5 separate regions of the Homo sapiens genome follow, and regions 1, 2, 4 and 5 are each linked to region 3. Evidence: promoter capture Hi-C in 16 types of primary human blood cells and fetal thymus (Javierre and others, 2016). All regions are on one chromosome and are shown on one strand. The core of a region is centred on a gene start or on the middle of the fragment in contact, and the rest is flanking DNA. Distances in the headings are between cores, read along the strand shown.

Region 1 (2,700 bases), core at 24-2,523, 310 kb before region 3:
TTGTCCCAACTTTTCCAGGTACACAGCCAGTGCTCAGTGACTGGTGCCTAGGTCATAATCAGACATCCGAGTCCCCAAGAGCAGAAATGCAAACACCAGTCCATTCGACTTTAAAATATACCTCACAGATATTTTCATTTTGTTCCATTGCTGCGGAATTTCAGCCTAATTTCTGCTTCCCAATTTCACTTCCTTCATAATCTGCTTCCTATTTTCTTTTTTTAAATTTTATTTTCAGAGCCATCACACCAGCTCTGCTTCCTAATTTCATCTGCTTTAAGCTAATGTTAAAATTAGTTTGGATTCCCTGGGATGTGGTGGATGGGCAAACAGGAGCCTTCAGTTAAATGGACCAGGTGAAGGCCACCTGCTGTGACCCAGCCTGGTGGTCTGTCCACCAGGGCTAACAGCCCACTGTGCCCAGTCTCAGCTGGGGCTGCTGGGACGAGGTCCCCCCAGATGGACACCAGGCACACAGCTATGGGGCTGACCTGGTCGGCACAGGTGCCACAGCTGGGGGCAGGCACTCAGGCAAGGGTGGGGCAGAGGAGCTAGACCCGCTCTGAGGGAGTACGGCCGCCGTGCCGGCAGCCTGACCTAAGGCTGCTTCAGCCCCGCCCACCTCAGCAGGTACCTGCGCCGTCTGCCACGCACACACCTGTGGATGATGTGCTGGCCGCGCAGGTAGTCCAGAGCCAGTGCCATCTCGCAGATGTACAGCCTCACCGTGTCCTCGGAGAACTGCACGTTCTGCTGCAGGTGGTAGCGCAGGTCCCCGCCCAGTAGCAGGTCCACGACCATGAACATGTCCTCCTCGTCCTGGAAGGAGTACCTGTGGGCACCGATGGAAGGCCTGTTGTGCGCACAGCTGGGGAGCCAGTCATGGCTGCTCCCACAGCTGACACACTCCCCCTAAGGACCACAGCCCCACCCCAGCATCAGCCACCAGGCATTCCCAGGAGGAGGGGCCTGCCCAAGGCACTGATTGCACCCCAGCCCAGAGCAGCTCTGAGCCCAGATCCTGAGGAAAGACACACCACCCTGTGCTGGAGGTGGCCCAGCTGGGGCCAGAGGCACCTGGGAGTGGCAAATGCAGAGCAGAGCTACAGTGCCAGCTCCGGGTGCTTCAGGCTGCCCGGCCTCCTCTTCGGTAAAATGGGGATACAGACATTTGCCTCGGAGGGTTGTTACAGAAAATGAGGCCGTGTAGGTACCACTCTTGACAGTGTTGGGCAAAGAGCTGGCATTTAACAACCAGCATCCATGGTGTTGACGATGGCAGTGATGGTGGTGGTGGTGACGGTGATGGTGAGGATGACGGTAGTGAGGACTGAGGGTGGTGGTGATGGTGATAACAGTGATTGTGGTCGTGGTGGTGGTGGTAATGGTGGTGACAATAGTGATTGTGTTGATTATAGTGATGACGGTGATGAGAGTGATGATGGTTGCAGTGGTGATGGTGGTGGTGATGGCGATGATGGTGGTGATGGTGATGGTGATGACAGTGGTGAGTTTTTCAGTCCCTAAACTCTCTCCCTCTCTGACTAGTGCCAGAGACTCCATGGGAGCACATCTCCATTGTAGGGAAGCCCTGGTCTTCCGGCAGGCTCAGAAGAGACACTGCATTAACCAACCCCAGCATGTCATGGCCACCTGGGCCACTGCCAGGCCTGGGGCACAGGAAGGGGGATAGATGAGGAGGGCTAGAGAGGGCCTGTGGGTGGCAGAGGCATCTCCGAGGCACGAGGGCCAAGGAGCACCAAGGGCAGGAGAGGATAGCCAGTGCCTTCCCGGCTTCAGGACGGTAAGTCTTTCTGCAGCGAGGCCATGGCAGGCTCACCAGAGGTTCACCAGGAAGACGTGCTCGATCTCCTGCAGGATCTCCAGCTCCCGGAAGACGTTGCGGACCTCGTCGCGCTCGATGCACTGCTGCTTGTTCATGTACTTCATGGCGTACATCTTCTCCGTGTCCCGCTTCTGCACAATGCACACCTGGAGGGCACAGGGCTGTTCGGCAGGACGCCTGAGGACGCCTGGGGACACGTGGGGACACCTGGAAATGCATGGGGATGCCTGGGGACGCATCGTCAGGACACAAGGGGACACCTGGGGACGCGCCGCAGCCCCTCTGCCTCCTAGACGCGGCAGGTGCATTCCTCTCTGCCACATATGGTAACATATTTGCTCTGGGGATTAAGATGTGGGTGTTTTGGAGGCCGTGATTCTGCCCCCCAGAGGTTCCTGTACTGGTTAGTGTGTGGCCCTGGCGGCACCTGTCTCAGTGACATCCTGGCTCCATGGCTGTTAGTGAAGACCCCTCCCTGAGACTCAGTCCTGCGTTTCAAGTCTGCAGCAGGACACATCTGTCAACAGGCGCTATCTGCAAACAGACAGGGTCCAGCCTAACAGCATCCAGGCGTGAGTTGGAGCCAAGCAGTGGCTGGTTGTGCGGGGAGCGCCCCTCACCAGCCACGACCTGGGCATGGAGTTTTGCCTTCCTAAACCCCAACATCCTTTTCCAGGGCTTGGAGCAGCAAGCAGCCCGGAGGGGTACTGGGGAATGAATGCGAAAACCCACTGAGCACAGAGCCCTGCGCTCAGGAAGCCTCATCAACCATGGCTGCAGCTTCACCCTGGACGCACATCACTCCACACTCCAGAGACCGACTCCCGTCTCAACACCGTGAGGCCAAGGCCCCT
Region 2 (2,700 bases), core at 158-2,657, 340 kb before region 3:
TGCCCACGGGGTAGTGTTGCAGGGACAGCACTGCGCAACCCAAACATGACCTTCCTCAGACACTCGGGGGCAGGCCTCAAACTCCAGGTCACATACAGGTTGCTACCTGGAGGGATGGCTTGTGGGGCACAGTGTGACTCAGTTTCCCCAGTGTGCCTTAGCTTGTCACACTAGCACTTTCCACCCAGCGAGGAGGAGATGCCATGGGTTGGGTGGGCTTGAGTGATGGGAGGTTGGGATCCTGCCTCCAGGCCCAGGCCGGTCCCCACACAAGTTCCGAGTCCTGGGGGAGGTGGATGGGCTGTGGCTGCCCAGGAAACAGGAGAGCTCAGCCCTCTTCCTGTTTGGGCCCCAACGTCAGAGGCAGCCCCTCATCCTTCTGCTCGTCCTAAGGGCCCAGCCCTGAGATCTGGGTGGTCCCACAAGCCTGCACTGTGAGCCAGGCATGGCAAGTGGGGCTCCAAGGCCCTGCAGGCAGGTGCTGGATGTGCTGGACGGCCAGAATGCAGGTCCCCAGCACAGCGCGGCCCTGGCCGCACTTCCAGGAGGGAGCCAGTGGAACCCAGGCCGAGAGCCCAGGCACAGCGGCTCTTCCAGTAACGGGGGGTCTGCTGGATGGGTGTGAGGGGTTCTCACCTGCATTTGCCGCTGGGTGGACAATCAGTTCCTAACCCGGAGCACAGGAGCAGGCAAGGAGGGCCTGGATGTAGCTGCCTCCGCCTCACTTCCCAGCTTGCTGGTGTGTGCATGGAAGCGGGGGACTGCTCCCAGGGCTGGCAAGCCAGTGAGGGAAGCACTGCGGGGGAGGGGCCCAAGACCCCCAACCCTCCAGTGGGCAGGAGCAGCAGAGGCTCCGTAGGTTGTCTGACTGGTGATGGCTGAGCCTCTGACCCCTGCCTCTTCTCCAGGTGTGAACTCCTTCCTGGTCTTCATGGCATACAAGGACCGGTGCCAGTGCAGCGACAGCCAGGTAAGGGCAGGCGTGGGGAACGGAGTGGGCAGGTATATCCCAGGCCGCTGCTGGTGCAGGCGCAGCCCCACCCAGGACGCCACCACTTCTCTTCCCAGATGTACGAGATCTTCAGCATCATCCGGGACCTGGGGGCCTTGGCCCAGGTGCACGCTGAGAACGGGGACATCGTGGAGGAGGTGCCGTGGGGCAGGGCTGCCGTGGGGCAGGCACAGGGGCTGCCGTGGGGCAGGGGCTGCCTGTGGGGTGGGGCAGGGGTCTGAGGGTGACTTTCATGATACGCAGACATCAGCACAGAATCCCACAAAACCTTGAGGGAGGGTCATAGCTTACCCCGAGTCAAAGGTCAACCAGTGAGTTAGAGAGACTGGGGGGTGATGGGGAGCTTTGAGGCCATAAAACAGCTTCTCCTTGATCAACACTTCTTATCCAAAATACCTCAAAAGCAAAGTGTCAGCCCCAGGGATCGAGGCCCCTCCTGTGGAGCGGGGTACCCGCTGGGGGTTGGGTTACCACCTTCCTTCCAGCCAAGGGCACCCATGTTGACAGGGCCACATCCTTCAGACACATCCCACCGGGCTGGGGAGGGCCTGAGCCCGCGTGCAGTGGCGCCGACCCCCCAGGCCCTTGGGGCTGAGGCAACCTTGGCCCTGCACCTTGTTTTCCCCTCTAGCAGAGGCACCCACAGGTACAGATGGAGTTCAGAGAGTGGGCCACCCCATACCCGTGGGACCTCAGTGGGGGTCACCACACAGGACACACCTCCCTGACACTGCAAACCCACAGTGAGACTTCGTGGGACGGGACGGGCTCTGCCCACCTCCTGAGCTCTACAGGAAGGTGGTGGCACTCGGGCAGGGGCATGTGGGGGGTCCCCAGTGTCCTCGTCCACCCGTCCAGCTGTGAGGGCATCGGGGCATCACAAACACTTCTGTGGCCCAAGGCCAGGCCCCGGCTGCACCGTCAGGAGGTTGTCCTGGGTCTAGGGATGCTCCACATACAGCGGGAGGGAGCCTCAGTATTGGGGCTGCTGCTTCTGGCCGGTACCATGTCTTCCCTGACACGAGCGGATGCCGTAGTGCAAATCTGCACGGAAAGGCAGTGCTGGAGGAAGGAGTGGTCGTCCATTCCTGACCTGCAGAGCCCTCCCTGCCTGTGCACACCCCCACACATGCCCCCGCTGGGGGAGGCAGCGTGATGGGCATAGTGGTGGGAGGGTGGGGTCTTGGTGCCATCAGTCAGGAGCCCTGCAGCCTTGGGGGAGCCACTTTCCCCTATCCGAGCTGTCCCCTCCTTGGTAACTCAGGGAGCAGGAATCACACCTCTCCAAGCCCCTCTGCCCTCTATTCTGAGTGTTCTGTGGCTGGGAAATTCTGGGAGGCCTGGGGGTCCAGGACCACTTGGGGAATGGGGCCTCCCAGCCTTGGGCTTAGCATCCAAGGCCCAGGCTCCCTTCAGGGCTTGGAGCGAGGCATCCTGTTGGTTTCTTTAGGAGCAGAAGCGGTTGCTGGAGCTCGGCATCACTGGCCCCGAGGGCCACGTGCTCAGCCACCCCGAGGAGGTAAGATCCCAGGGCACCACAGCACACCCGAGCCAACTCCGCCCAGACCACTGCTGCCTGGGGCTGTGCTGACCCTGGCCCTGGGCTCCTGGCCCTGCCACTGTGCTCGCCCCGACCTCATCTGGGAGGCGTGAATCCTCCCCGTGCCAGGCACTTGTCCTCCATCCCC
Region 3 (2,700 bases), core at 9-2,508:
TGGTGGCCACTGGCCACACAGGGCTGCTGAGCACTGGAAGCGGCCTTGTGAGCTGCTGCCAAGAGGCAGGTGCCCGTGCAAAGCCTTCCTGTGAAGGAATCTCACTGAGGTTGTTAAATTCTGGTTACATGTTGAATGATGTATCTATCTATTGGGTTAAGTAAAACGTATTGTTAACTTTGGCTATTACTTGTTACCTTTAAAAAATGTAGCTACTGGAAGCTTTAAGATGACAAATGTGGTTCTCCTCCTCCATCTACAGGCATGTCCCGGTTCACGGCGGCTGTGTCCCCGCGGCCTCAGACCCAGGGTCCAGCCCATGCTCTGGCCCCTCCGGCGGCCAGGATCAGCATCGCTGCCCCGGGGCCCGCGCCGAGCCGGCTGCTCCTCCGTGCTCTGCGCTCCTGGGCCCGCACCAGCCCCCTCCCCTGGAGCCCCCTTCGTCCCTGCGAGGGTTCCCTGCACGCCCCGCGCTGAGACCCAGCCTGGCCCGGGCCGGAGCCCTCCGCGACGTCAGGATGCGCCTGGCCTCACGCCGCCTCCCCTCCGTCTTCTCTGGGCCGCAGCCGCTCCTCGTGAGTGAGGTCGCGGCCAGGGAGCCGGGTGGACGCGCCGGGAAGCTGCACGGTCCACGCTCCGTCTGCGCGGAGAGCCGGGCGCGCGTGGCCCGGCCCCTGCAGGCGCGACTGCCGCCGCCCCGGTGGGCTCCCCTCCCCCGCACGCCCGGCACGCGGCTGGACGACTGCGGCCGCGCGGGGGCTGGAACATCCCCTCAGAGCCGCAAGAGAGCGCACCCGCCGCCGGCGCCCGGAACCCAGGGCCCCTTTAAGAGGCGCCGCCGGAGCAGGGCCGTGACGTCATAGAAGTGCGAAGGGCGGAGTCTGTGCGCAGCCGCGGCGCGGGGGGCGGGGCGGGGGCGCGGCGTTCTTGCGGGCCTGACTGACAGGAGCGCCCTCCGGGAGCGACCAGTACTAGGCCGCCGGTCGCAAGAGCGCCCCGCGTAGGCCCCGCCCCGAAAGGAGGCCCCGCCCCGGGGCAGGCCCCGCCTCCACAAGGACACCAAGTCCCGCACAAGCCACGCCCCCCGCAGGCCCCGCCCCACTCTGTTCAGATCTAGGCCCAACTCAGGCTCCGCACCTCAAGGCTCCGCCCCCAGCAAGGCTCCGCCCCAGGCCCGGCTCCACCCCGCACAGGCCCCACCCCGAGTCAGGCTCCGCCCCGCCCAGGCCCCGCCCCGGGCTCGGCTCCGCGGGGCGGGACTTGCCCTCAGCCTGAGTCGGCGGCGGCTGCGGGAACTTTCCCAGCGGATCTAATGGCTGCGCGCGGGCCGCTGTGAGGCGCGGCGGCGAGCGACGGGCGCGGGGCCGCGGAGCAGCGAGCGAGCGAGCGAGCGCGAGGCCGGAGCCCCGGCCAGGCCCGGCCGACCCGCCGAGCCCGCGATGCGCCCCGGGGCCGCCCCCCGGCGCAGCTGACGCCCCGCGGCCCCGCGAAGACCCCGGCCGGCCGGTCCCGGAGGAAGCGGCCGCCGCCGCCGCCGCCCAGCCCAGCGCCCGCGCCGCCCGGGCACCATGGCGGGGAAGGCGGCCGCCCCGGGCACCGCGGTGCTGCTGGTCACGGCCAACGTGGGCTCGCTCTTCGACGACGTAAGTCCCCCGTGCCGGCGGCAGGCCCCAAGCCCGGAACCCCCGACCCTGACCCCGGGGTCCCGAACTGCAAGCCTTGGACCCTGGACCGTGAACCTCCAGACCCAGAGGCCCCAGACTCTGATCCCTGTACCCGGGACCCCAGACTCCTGTCCTGATTCCCAAGTCTGGGAGCCCAGACCCCTGTCTTGATCCCCAAGCCCGAGACCTGAAGACCTGGGCCCTGAATCCCCGAACCCCATCCTCCAGACTCCAGCAGCTGACCGTTGACCCTGGGACCCTGCCTCTGAACTCCTGTCTGCAAATCCTGACCTCGAAACTCCAATATTAAAACCCTGTCAGAACCCCTGTTAACAGTTCCTGGAACCCAAACCCCAGAAACCGGGTCTGTGCGCACCAAACCCAGCCCCAGCCCTGATTTCCGAATCCTCAGAACCCTGGCCCTGGAATGCCCATCCCCAACCCTGGCCCTGAACCCCAGGTCCATGGTCACTGGAACCACAAATCCTGACTGCAGAACTCTGGTTACAGAACCTGCTCTCAAACGTCTGTCTCTGGTCCCTGAGCCCTGGACCCCAAACCCTGAAACATAACCACAAACCCTAACCCAGGAACTTCTGACACAGGGCTGTGGCCCCAACCTCCTGTCCCTGTTCCCCAATCACTGAATTCTAGCCCTAGAATCCCAGCCTTCATACTGTGGCCCTTTGCCTCTAAAGCCAATCTAGCCTGACTCTGAACCCTGAATTTCAACCTCAGGCCCCAGCTTATGGCCCTGAACACTTGTCCTTGACCCCTGAACCTGGAACCCTGGTTCCAGAATCAGGCCCCAAACCCAATTCTGGACCCTGCCCCTAACTCTGGTTCCTAGATCCCATCCTTGGCCCCTTCCTCCAACAAGCTCCTGCCCCTGAATCCTGAATCCTGAATCCTGGTCTTAAAGCCTGGGCCTTGAGCCTGCAGAATTCCCAAACCCTAACCCTTGACTCCCACCCCTGGCCCCTGTCCTCTGAGCCTAGGCCCTCCACTCTGGCTGTCAGCCCCAGCTCCTGGATGC
Region 4 (2,700 bases), core at 110-2,609, 360 kb before region 3:
GTTATGTTTCCAAACAGTTGAGATCCCAGTGGAAATTTCCAGCACACACAGACGGCAGGGGCCTGTTCCTCCGGCTCTGTTTTGACATCAATCAGAATGCTGTTTCCTGATCCATATGTACGACTACGTCTGCACGTGGTACCCATGGTGGTATTGATGAGGGTTCTGCCCTGCAGCTTTTAGCGAGGTTCTGGTGCCTTCGTGCCCGTGGGGCTGGGGGCCCCGACCTGTGGAAACACCCTGTGTCAGCCCTGGGTGGTGCCCCAGGCATGCTGCCATCTCCTGTCCCTGCTGCCGCCCTTGGCACTGTCCAATGAGCCAAGTTCATGATTGTGGTTGTCAACTTGTTCCTACACTTCATCAGCTATCCTCGTTGCAGCCCAAGATAAAATTACCCAGGCTTTCCCCTCCAGCGTGAAGGGCAGGGGCCCTCAGTGCTCATCCTCCCCCAGCATCATGCACGGTCACGGGGCTGTATTTGTTGACGGGACTTTTGGGCTCCCCGGGCTCTGAGCTGGTTGGGGCTCCACCTGCACTATGCCTGAGCTCCCCACATCCTACCTCTCTCCTGTCACTCGAAGCTCAGCCACCTGAGCAGCACTTTCCTGCCCCCTCCCTGAGAACTGGGAGCTCTTGGGATGAGGATTATCTGGGTTTCTCCCGCGGAACCCTTACTGTGGCACTGATACACTCACATAAACATTTGCCACGTGAATGGCCAAGTACGTAAAAGAATGCGCTCCCTGAAGGCAATTCGCAGCCCCATGTTCCCCCCACCCCCCACACTTCCAGGCAACAGTGAAAGCAGATGTTCTGGGGGTCCCCGAGACCACCTGCATCTCTGGGGACTCGCTAGGATTCACAGGACTCAGCACACAGTCACACCACAGCAGGGCCACACCACGGCAGGGTCGCACCACAGCAGGGTCACGCCACGGCAGGGTCACACCACAACAGCCACACCATGGCACAGCCACACCATTATCGCAGCCCTATAATCGGGAGGCATGGCTGGATCTGCAAGGGAAGAGTTCACAGGCACAGCCTGGAGAGGCCTGTGAGCAGACTTCCTGTGCTCTCTCCCCTCCCATGCTCTTCCCCCTGTGAGGTGCACACGGGGCACACACTCCCTCCAGCAGCAAAACACAGCCCCATATATGCAGTGTTTCTGCTCGGGAAATTCCAGCTAAGACCCAAAATTCATGGTTTTGATTTGGGGGCTACTCAGTTGTGCGCCCCCCACCCACTAACATGCCAGGCCCTCAAAAGGAAGGCTGGTGTTTGCCATGAATCACATTGTTTGCACAGTCTAGGCAGGAACCTCCTCACTAAAGGAATGCTTCGAAGCCAAGTTCCCAGACGCCAGCCAATGGCCACCGTTGCAAGCAGGCACTTCTGCAGCTAGCAGCCTCAGGCCTGTCCACAGAGACACTCTTGAGTGAGGACCCTGGGGTGCCAGAGCTTGCTTGGGGGCATTGAGGAGCCCCATGGAGCCACAGAGACCAAGGCCAGACCCATGGATGGCTGCCTCCCACCTGTCCTGTGCCTGACATGGCTCCAGTTTGGATGAGGTCCTCAGCTGACTGTGAGGGACAGTGCCCAGAAAGGGGAGGGTGGGTGGGAGGGAGAAGATCACGTTCCCTAGAAGAGACGGAACAGATGGGGTAGGGCGGGAGGGATTTGGGAAGACTGCAAACCTGGAAGCAGAACTGTGTGTGTGTGTGTGTGTGTGCGTGCGTGCATGCGTGTGTGTGCGTGTGTGTGTGCGTGCGCGTGTGTGTGTGCGTGCGCGTGTGTGTGTGCGTGTGTGTGCGTGTGTGCGTGCGTGTGTGCGTGTGCGTGTGCGTGTGTGCGTGTGTGTGCGCGCGCGTGTGTGTGCGTGCGTGTGTGTGTGCGCGTGTGTGTGCGTGTGTGTGCGTGTGTGCGTGCGTGCGCGCGCGTGTGTGCGTGTGTGTGCGTGTGTGTGTGTGCGCGTATGCATGTGCTGTGAGTGGTGTGTTGTGTATGCATGTGTGTATATATCGTGTGCATGTGTGTGCTGTGTGTGAGTGGTGTCTTTGGGCATGTGCATGTATGTGTATGTGTTGTGCATTGCATGTGCCTGTATGTGTATTTTGCATTGTGTGTACACATGTACAGTGCATTTGTGCGTATTGTGTGGGCATGTGTGTGTAGTGTATTGTGTGTACATGCATGTGCAGTGTGTATGTGCTGTTTGCACATGTGCAGGTATGTGTATTGTGCATTGTGTGTACGTGCACATGTAGTGTGTGTGTGTGAGTGGTATGTTGCGGCCATGGATGGGGCAGAAAGTCTCCTGTTCTGGAAATAGGGCAGTGAGTGGAGTGTGCTGACAATGGAGAGCAGCAGCTGGCTCTGGAGAGGGATCAAGTGACCACAGGAAACCAAATGCTCTGGTCTTGTTCCTTTAATTTGGGGAGTGAGTTTTTAAAATTCAGCATCATATTTTCAACAAGACCTCTGTTCTCTATTTGCATGTGCCTAGTTCATACTCCAGGCAGTTGATCACATAATTCAGAGAGGCATTGACAGGGTGGGAGTGTTTCTGGGTAGGTGTCCAGATCCCCGGCCCTTCTCAGCCTGGAAGTGTCACCGAGGGAAATCCCTGTTTTACATGGGGCTTCACCTTTTCCCTCTGTAAAATATGAGGGCTGGACTGGCAGGTCCCCTTCCTCCTGT
Region 5 (2,700 bases), core at 14-2,513, 390 kb before region 3:
GCCCTCCTCCTGTCCTGAGTCGGGGTGGGGGGGGCTGGCCTTGGAGGGGGCGTCCCCTCCTCAGGCTCGGAGAGATTTGTCTCCGTAACTGGGGACTTTAAATATCGCCTCTTTCACTTTGACTTAATTTTTGCATGACCCTTGGAGAAAGGAAAAAGTCAAGGCCTCGGTTCAGAGCATCATAAAGCACAGCAGCCCCGAGACATCCCAGAGCCTCATGGGCCCAGCCTTTCTCCCTCACAGCGGGGGCGGGGCAACAGCCGCATCCTCCTGGCCAAGCTCGCCAGGAGCTGGAGGAGCTGGAGAAAGCATCCTGTCTTCCCTTTTTCCTGTCGGGTGCCAGAGAAACATTTGCTCGGGGGCCACATGGAAGCAAAGAACTCAGAAGCTTTGCTTAGAGAGTAAAAATGTCCAAACTGCATGTAAAAAAAAGTTTAATGTCATTTAGAATCAGAGGAAAATCTGATGCCGAGAAGTGCTGCATGGTTATTTTAAAAACTAGAAGATACAGAAAAGATTAATGAAGAAAATAGACTAGCCGGCATCCCACAGTCTGATTCTGTATTATAATTGGAAATGTCACTCCTCACTGTGGAAATCGAGGAAGCCTCAGGATAAGGAAGGGGGCAGGAGAGGACAGGCGTCTGAAGACATGGACGTGGGCCCATCCCTGCCACGGTCCTGAGGCTGCAGGGGGCCCACAGCCCTCTGTGGGCTCCGTTTCCCTGTCCGGAAACAGGGTTAGGACTAACTGGAATTCCCTCTCTGCTAAGCATTCTCCAACCCAAGGGCTCACATCCACGATTGTGACCCCTTAAGGGAGGGAAGAGGCTGGGGTGATGGGAGGAGCCCAGGACGGCCTGGGGGCAGGGAGCTGGGACCAAGCACTCGGGGGCGGGCACCACAGGTCACGCCTTCGCCCACCCCCCACCCCGGCTGATGGATCCTCTGACCCTGCGTCCTGTCCCGAAACGCACCTCTCCCTTGGAAGCTATCCCCAGAGAGAGCAGGAGCCACTGTGGCCCCATGGTTCGGAGCCACCACAGCAAAGTGAATTAAGGGAGGTGGCTCAGACCTCGGCTAGAAGCCTCGGTGGCACTCGGGAGGGACTTCACAAACCAGGATGCGGACGGGGGAAGCGCCAGGGCTTTTCCTGTAGATGTGGGGCGGGCTCTGGGAGTCAGTTAAGGAACACAGAATTCAGGAAGGCAGTGAGCCCTGGGCTGAGGCAGCTCCCGCACAGGCAGCCACACCACCCGGGGCTTCCAGAGGGGCAGCTCCAGTACAGGCAGCGGCACCACCCGGGGCTTCCAGCGGGTCCATGTGGAGAGTCCCTCGAACAAAGCCCTCTGGCCGGCACCTGGCAGGGCTGAGCACACGCTAGGCCTCAGTCATCCTCATTGGCTGTGTCATCCTGTAAACAAAGATTTCTCCTAACAGGCTCTCAAAATCAACCTGCAGGATTTCCCCTTAGAATCTAAGTGAGATCTCTTGCTTCAAATAAGCCTTAAAGTTCTCCCTCCAGGGCTGGGCGCAGTGGCTCACTCCTGTAATCCCAGCACTTTGGGAGGCTGAGGCAAGTGGGTTGCTCGAACTCAGGAGTTTGATACCAGCCTGGGCAACATGGTGAAACCCCGTCTCTACAAAAAATACAAAAATTAGTGGGGTGTGGTGGTGCATACCTGTGGTCCCAGTTACTCAGGATGGTGAGGTGGGAGGATCACTTGAGCTCGGGAGGCGGAGGTTACAGTGAGCCAAGATTGTGCCACTGAGCTCCAGTCTGGATGACAGAGCCAAACCCTGTCTCAAAAAAAAACAAAACAGTTCTCCCTCTCTTAGAAAGCATCTCTTCCAAAGGAAGGGCGAACAGTCACTTCTCAATGAACTGAACCAAAAGACAGACCCTTCTGACGTCCCACGAGTGTGTGTGCTGTCTGTCCCAGCTTTTAGAGAAAATTTGATGTATCTTTCCTCCCGTCCTACAGACCCGTGAGCAGCTACAAGCCGAAGTGCAGAGGGCACAGGCGCGGATAGAGGACCTGGAGAAGGCCCTGGCGGAGCAGGGGCAGGTGAGCCTGCAGCCATCTGCACGGGCGTGGGGGCACACGTGGGTGGGAGGTATTTGGCTGTACCTAAAGACAAGCTTCAGTGGTGCGATCATAACTTTCTACAGCCTTGACCTCCTGGGCTCAAGCCATCCTCCCACCTCAGCCTCCTGAGTAGCTGGGACCACAGGCATGTGCCACCACGCCCGGCTAATTTTTGTATTTTTTGTAGAGACGGGGCTTTGCCACGCTGGCCAGACTGGTCTTTGGTGTTCTGCCACATCACGATTTAAACGTTGGTTTATGAGTTCCTCCCTCAGTGTCTTTATTTCTTTCAATTCCATTTGCAAGGATATGAAGTGGATTGAAGAGAAGCAGGCACTGTACCGGAGAAATCAAGAGCTTGTGGAAAAGGTGAGCCCCGAACCCCTGGAGGCCCTGGCAGGACTCGCTCTATGCTCCTGGGGGTTGCAGTGGTCCCTGCGGGGCTGAAGGATGGAGCGAGGGCTGAGGCTTCTGAATGGCTGTCCCAGGCCCCTTCTGCTCTGCTCCCTCCTGCGGGACCCCATCAGGAGCCCTGGGGAGGAGGATGGCCTGGACAGAGGGAGCTGGGGCCTGTTCTCCTGGGTCCTGTTCTCCTGGGTCCGGGCAGGCC

What was found. Contacts are between HindIII fragments. The CHiCAGO score rates a contact against its expected background, and 5 or more counts as called.
Region 1: a fragment that was not itself captured here is called in contact with the fragment with the promoter of INPP5A in region 3 in 12 of 17 cell types (monocytes, naive CD4 T cells, M0 macrophages and 9 more); the score reaches 10.1 in monocytes.
Region 2: a fragment that was not itself captured here is called in contact with the fragment with the promoter of INPP5A in region 3 in 8 of 17 cell types (naive CD4 T cells, activated CD4 T cells, non-activated CD4 T cells and 5 more); the score reaches 13.8 in naive CD4 T cells.
Region 4: a contact is called between a fragment that was not itself captured here and the fragment with the promoter of INPP5A in region 3, in 7 of 17 cell types (naive CD4 T cells, activated CD4 T cells, non-activated CD4 T cells and 4 more). The highest score is 13.4, in naive CD4 T cells.
Region 5: a contact is called between a fragment that was not itself captured here and the fragment with the promoter of INPP5A in region 3, in 3 of 17 cell types (activated CD4 T cells, naive CD4 T cells and non-activated CD4 T cells). The highest score is 11.3, in activated CD4 T cells.

Annotation. Positions count from the first base shown.
Region 1 is chr10:132,226,137-132,228,836 of GRCh38, forward strand. STK32C (serine/threonine kinase 32C) reads right to left here. Exons shown (of 12, transcript NM_173575.4): 3 at 1,841-1,992; 4 at 659-832. Among named protein-coding and RNA genes, the nearest start is that of DPYSL4, 41 kb to the left of the region's middle. The HindIII fragment of the contact is 5,425 bases long and covers 1-2,700 here.
Region 2 is chr10:132,195,953-132,198,652 of GRCh38, forward strand. DPYSL4 (dihydropyrimidinase like 4) reads left to right here. Exons shown (of 14, transcript NM_006426.3): 5 at 909-970; 6 at 1,069-1,149; 7 at 2,463-2,531. Among named protein-coding and RNA genes, the nearest start is that of DPYSL4, 10 kb to the left of the region's middle. The HindIII fragment of the contact is 8,271 bases long and covers 1-2,700 here.
Region 3 is chr10:132,536,529-132,539,228 of GRCh38, forward strand. INPP5A (inositol polyphosphate-5-phosphatase A) reads left to right here and starts at 1,259. Exons shown (of 16, transcript NM_005539.5): 1 at 1,259-1,643. The coding sequence starts at 1,569. It overlaps LOC107984282 (a long non-coding RNA gene), which reads right to left and starts at 395. Exons shown (of 4, transcript NR_158224.1): 1 at 198-395. RefSeq lists a silencer at 280-1,379 and an enhancer at 2,160-2,209. The HindIII fragment of the contact is 3,408 bases long and covers 221-2,700 here.
Region 4 is chr10:132,178,814-132,181,513 of GRCh38, forward strand. The region is part of intron 23 of JAKMIP3 (Janus kinase and microtubule interacting protein 3); the gene reads left to right. JAKMIP3-AS1 (JAKMIP3 antisense RNA 1) reads right to left here. Exons shown (of 4, transcript NR_184044.1): 3 at 2,648-2,700; 4 at 1-227. Among named protein-coding and RNA genes, the nearest start is that of JAKMIP3-AS1, 6.6 kb to the right of the region's middle. The HindIII fragment of the contact is 8,704 bases long and covers 1-2,700 here.
Region 5 is chr10:132,143,122-132,145,821 of GRCh38, forward strand. It overlaps JAKMIP3 (Janus kinase and microtubule interacting protein 3), which reads left to right. Exons shown (of 24, transcript NM_001323087.2): 12 at 1,986-2,069; 13 at 2,397-2,459. Among named protein-coding and RNA genes, the nearest start is that of JAKMIP3-AS1, 42 kb to the right of the region's middle. RefSeq lists an enhancer at 1-221. The HindIII fragment of the contact is 1,755 bases long and covers 387-2,141 here.